Linked DNA regions of Homo sapiens: region 1 is linked to region 2. Evidence: promoter capture Hi-C in 16 types of primary human blood cells and fetal thymus (Javierre and others, 2016). All regions are on one chromosome and are shown on one strand. Each heading gives the region's core, a stretch centred on a gene start or on the middle of the fragment in contact. The rest is flanking DNA. Distances are from core to core; before and after follow the strand shown. Region 1 has its middle 1.6 kb from the start of HEMK2. Region 2 holds the start of USP16 (ubiquitin specific peptidase 16).

Region 1 (2,700 bases), core at 105-2,604, 140 kb after region 2:
ATGAAAGTTTGAGGATATATTTCTCCATACTTTATTAATACATCAAAAGGTCGGAAATGTGAATTCCAAGAAAATTTCTAGTGTCCAGTCCATTGTACCTGATCTTGAAATTGCCAATGCTCACCGTAAGCTTTTGGTCATAATTGCTGAAAATGTTGATGGAGAAACTCTAAGTACACTCATTTTGAATAGGCGAAAACTTGGTCTTCAGGTTGTAGCAGTCAAAGCTCCAGGGTTTGGTGACAATAGAAAGAACCACCTTAAAGGTATGACAATTGCTACTGGTGGTGCAGTGTTTGGAGAAGAGGAGTTGACCTCAAATCTTGAAGATGTTCAGCCTCATGACTTAGGAGAAGTTGGAGAGGTCACTGTGATCAAAGATGATGCTATGCTCTTAAAAGGAAAAGGTGACAAGGCTCAAATTTAAAAACGTATTCAAGAAATCATTGAGCAGTTGGATGTCACAACTAGTGAATATGAAAAGGAAAAACTGAATGAACAGCTGGCAAAACTTTCAGATGGAGTAGCTGTGCTGAAGGTTAGTGGGACAAGTCACGTTGAAGTGAATGAAAAGAAAAACAGAGTTACAGATGCCCTTAATGCTACAAGAGCTGCTGTTGAAGAAGGCATTGTTCTGGGAGGGGGTTGTACCCTACTTCGATGAATTGGTGCCTTGGACTCATTGACTCCAGCTAATGAAGATCAAAAAATTGGTACAGAAACTATTAAGAAAACACTCAAAATTCCTGCAATGACTATTGCTAAAAATGCGGGTGTTGAAGGATCTTTGATAGTCCAGAAAATTATGCAGTTCCTGAGAAGCTGGTTGTGATGCCACGGTCAGATTTTGTGAATATGGTGGAAAAAAGGAATTATTGACAAAACAAAGGTTGTGAGAAGTGCTTTACTGGATGCTGCTGGGGTGGCCTGTTAACTACAGCAGAAGTTGTAGTCAAAGAAATTCCTAAAAAAAGAGAAGGACCCTGTATTGGGTGCAATGGGTGGAACGGGAGGTGTTATGGGAAATGGCAAGTTCTAATGATTAGAATAGCGTTTTACTTTAATTAATGAACTGTGGCAGGAAGCCCAAGGCAGTATTCCTCACCAATAACTTCAGAGAAGTCAGCTGGAGAAAACGACTGAAGAAAAGGCTAGCAGATGTTTAGGAAATCACTATAACAATCAGTTACTGGTTTCAAGTGACAAAATATATAATGTTTTACTGCTGTCACTGTCCATGCCTACAGATAATTTATTTTGTATTTTTGGATAAAAAGACATTTGTATATTCCTAATACTGGGTGCGAGAGCACCTATGGTTCCAGTTCCAGCTACTCAGGAGGCTGAGGGAGGAGGATCGCTTGAACCCAGGAGATCAAGTACAACTCTTTCTATATATATATATTTTTCATATTTTTACATAATAAAATTCTATATGGCAGTTAAGAGGAGTAACCTAACCATATATCAAAACATAAATCTCATATAATGTTGACTGAAAAAGAAATTTGAAAAATATGTCCAACCTAGTACCAGTTATGTAAATTTTAAAATACACCGTATGTTGCTTATAAAGATATGAATGTTTATAAACGTATAAATACAAGATCCATGTTTTTACATGGATTAGATGGACATACACTAAATCCATAAGAGCCTTGGAGAGAATGTTACACAATTAAACTGAAGGCAAATAGAGAAAGAACATCCATCTTATTTGTAATATTTTAGTTCTTGTATTTAAAAAATATTTTAAGGAAACATGAGAAAATACTGTCATTTCTGGGTTTAAAACTTGGGGTTTTGAAATTTGTAACCCAGCCGGGTGCGTTAAAGGCTCACACCTGTAATCTCAGCACTTTGAGAGCCCAAGGCGGGTGGATCACCTGAAGTCAGCAGTTTGAGACCAGCCTGGCCAACATGGGGAAAATCCGTCTCTACTAAAAATACAAAAATTAGGCAGCCGTGGCTGCAGGCGCCTGTAATCCCAGCTACTCCGGAGGCTGAGGCAGGAGAACCGCTTGAACCTGGGAGGCAGAGGTTGCAGTGAGCCTAGCTCGCGCCACTGCACTCCAGCCTGGGGGATACAGCGAGACTCTGTCTCCAAAAAAAAAAAATACATAAGTAGAAATAAAATAAAATAAAATTTGTACCTCAAATACTTTTCTGTATTTTTATTTCTCAAATTTAAAAAACGAGCTGTAAAAATGTTTCATTGCGAAACAAATTTCAGAAATTGACTCAAAAAGAATGCAAATACTTGAATAGTCTAATAACTTACAGATGTTCCAAAACATCAAAGATCCATTCACTCAAAAAGGCACCAAGCCCAGCCAGTTTTAAGGCTTTCTACCTAATGTTCCAGAAACAGTGTCCTAACTCACATAACGAGGGTAGCGTAATCTTGGTAAAAAAAAACGGAGCCAGATTATTAGCCTCCCCAATTCAGCAGTGTATTAAACCGCATCATCTTGCTTAAGGTTTATAAAAAGAGTGCATTCATGATTCATCAGGAAGGCAATTTATAAAGTACAGTAAAAAAACGAGGAAAGTCTTCATCTTTATAGCGTAAAGCTTAAAGTTCAGCTGACAAAAAAACAGTAAAATTTATTATGTATTTTTTCAAATCCTTGCAAACTAGGAATAAAACAGAATTTCCAAATATCATTAGAATGAAGAAAGAACATTCACCTTAGTCAA
Region 2 (2,925 bases), core at 329-2,828:
ACCTCGTGATCCACCTGCCTCGGCCTCCCAAAGTGCTGGGATTACAGGCGTGAGCCACAGCACCTGGCCAAGTCCTTCTCTTGTACTCCACTCCAAAACACTTTGTACCCTCCCCGCCTTGATGTCTTTGATTTCTAGCTGTAATATTCTATCTAAATCTTACCAATCTTGGAAGCTCTCCATTTCAAGGAAGCCTTAGACAATCATTCTACTCTAAATAAACCTCTCCACTGAACTTCCCCAGTATTTATGGTATGCTCTAGTCATCTTGTCCCCTTATCCCATATTCTAGTGAATTTCTTAAATCTTTAATCTGGGTTTATGTTATTTCTGTAAGCAGAATCTAAAGTTCTTAGAAAAATAAATGGTTTCAAGCACAGTTTTGGAACTGCCTATAATATCTAGCATAATGTTAGTACATAGCAGGTCCTGAAGAAATACTTCTTGCATTGAAATAGAAAAATAGAATAGTACCTGAGGCATAAAGGATGATTACAAGGTGCAAAGGTAGGTACATAAGAATGAAGCAAACAAGTTCTGGTGAAAAAGAAAAGGGTGAAAAATGAGAAGTCAGAAGTCTGCAGTAGTGAAGACAGCACTAGTAAATCTGGTTTGAGGATTGCAGCAGCTTAGACTCCATAGGAAAACTTGAAAGACGAATTGTTAATTACTGCAGGCAGAGGACAGAGGGGTCACTCCAGTGCTGCGGAAAGAGCCTCAGTAAAGTTCTGACAACTATAAAGGCAACTAATGAGTCATGAGGAGAGCATATTGTGACTTCCATCAGCTATAAAACATCAATAAACTTAATACACTTTTCAAGTAGTGTCATCGGATGAGCATTAACGTCTTAGTGAAATGACTCTTCGCAGGACTCCATACAAAATCTAAATCAAAGATAGTCTTGCCGGTTCTCATATTATTCCAAGTCTCTTCACTCTCTGCCCTCCCAGTCTTCCCCTGCCTACTCGGTTCCATTAAAAATGTAAGCGTGTGGAAAACTTTGTCAGCAGGTGTTAACGTGGCTTTCAAGTTTTGCGTATATCAATCCCCTCCTAGATATAGTCAATTGGATAAGTGACAGATCCTGCTTTTCCTACCAGCCGTATGAACACGGCTGCAAATCCAGCTCCAACCCATAGGGAAGTCCCTGCCACGCGCCACCCACCCATTTGCTCGGCGCCTGCCACACCTTCCCTCTCCTCCCCTTCTAACTGCTCCGATCCCACGGGGGAACCTCTGGGTCCACGGGGTCGAGAAGGCCGCCAGCAGCGGCATCTCATTGGCCAGCTTCTGGAACTGACAGAACATGCAGCCAATGAGATCGCAGTACCGGAAAGTAGCCGGGTTACGTGCTTAAGGAGAGCGGCCTTCAAGAAGAGAACGAAGTTGGGGCGGAAAACAGGAGCTCTCCCAGCGCAGAAAGCCAGGCGAGCGACGACTGCCAGGCAGTGGGACCAGAACTCACCCACGGCGACAGAGCCCATAACTGCATCCCCTCATGGGCCTTTGGGCTGGGCAGCCAGCTCCGTCTTCCTCCTGGTGACGAATTGAGAGCGACGGAGTCGAAGCCAGAGTGACCCCTGGAAAGCAATAACTTCCGGAACGCGGCATTATGGGAAGTGGCTAGGCCACCACCACCCCACCCCCACCTCCCGGGACCATCGGCTCTGACGCTAGTAAATCTGCGCCTGCGTGCGGCTTGCGCCGGATGTTCGGGTTTAGGGGTTTGGTTGTCAATGGGTTTTCTCGTCTCTGACATAACCACGAAGTTATATAAATGCTCCTGAAGTGTGGGCATCCGGTGGTGGTCTGAGCCTTGGAGTTTCCTAGATGGTTACCTTTCTGGAACACATTATATTTGGAGCTAAAAGGGGGAACGCTTAAATTTGTTTCCGTAATTCTGTCCTGTCGACTTCTAAAACTGAGTACCTAAGTTGTCTTGAATTTACCTTCCTGCACCATGTCAGAATAAAAAACGCAGCGAGTGATTTTTTGTTTGTTTGAGACGGAATATCCCTCTGTCGCCCAGGCTGGAGTGCATTCTTCTGCCTCAGCCTCCCGAGTAGCTGGGACTACAGGCGCACGGCACCACGCCCAGCTAAAATTTTTGTATTTTTAGTAGAGACGGGGTTTCACCAATTGGCCAGGCTGGTCTCCAACTCCTGACCTTGTGATGCGCCCGCCTCGGCCTCCCAACGTGCTGGGATTACAGGCGTGAGCCACCGCGCCCGGCCGCGAGAGTGAATTTTTAAAGCAAAACCGAAAGACGGTGTCAGATAAATTGCGGGGGAGGAGGGGATTTTCAAATATTTACTGTCCATTCTTTGAAAATTTGTAAGTGCGAGCCCTGGCGCGGTGGCTCACCCCTGTAATCCCAACACTGGGAGGCCGAGGCGGGTGGATCACGTGAGGTCAGGAGTTCGAGACCAGCCTGGCCAACGTGGTGAAATCCCGTCTCTACTAAAAATACAAAAAATTAGTCGGTCGTGGTGGCGGGCGCCTGTAATCCCAGCTATTCGGGAGGCTAAGGGGGAGAATCGCTTGAAGTCTGGAGGCAGAGGTTGCAATGAGCCAAGATCACTCCATTGCACTCCAGCCTGGGCAACAAGAGCAAAACTCCCTCTCAAAAAGAAAAAAAGAAAATATGTAAGTGCACACTTTGTGCCAAGCCTTTCCTCAAATGAATTAAACATAGGCCTCTCTGCCCTGGAGTCTTAGTTTAGTAGAGAAGATAGTAATCGCTACCGTGGGGGTCGGGGGAGTTGCAGATAGCTATAGAAAAATAGATATGTAAACAGGTAATTCACCATAAAAGAACAATTGGTCATAAAATAAATGTCCATCCTTACTAATCAGATAAAAGGAGTTTAAGATGGTGGCATACTAACCACCAGAGTAACATTTGGTTAAATTTGGGGGAAA

Evidence for each region. The method cuts DNA at HindIII sites, captures the fragments that hold promoters and counts their contacts. A CHiCAGO score of 5 or more calls a contact.
Region 1: a contact is called between a fragment that was not itself captured here and the fragment with the promoter of USP16 in region 2, in 1 of 17 cell types (total CD8 T cells). The highest score is 6.0, in total CD8 T cells.

The regions. Positions count from the first base shown.
Region 1 is chr21:28,885,619-28,888,318 of GRCh38, reverse strand. It overlaps the pseudogene HSPD1P7. Among named protein-coding and RNA genes, the nearest start is that of HEMK2, 1.6 kb to the right of the region's middle. RefSeq lists an enhancer at 2,535-2,700. The HindIII fragment of the contact is 2,444 bases long and covers 133-2,576 here.
Region 2 is chr21:29,023,321-29,026,245 of GRCh38, reverse strand. It overlaps USP16 (ubiquitin specific peptidase 16), which reads right to left and starts at 1,578. Exons shown (of 18, transcript NM_006447.3): 1 at 1,469-1,578. RefSeq lists an enhancer at 1,313-1,702. The HindIII fragment of the contact is 4,939 bases long and covers 1-2,925 here.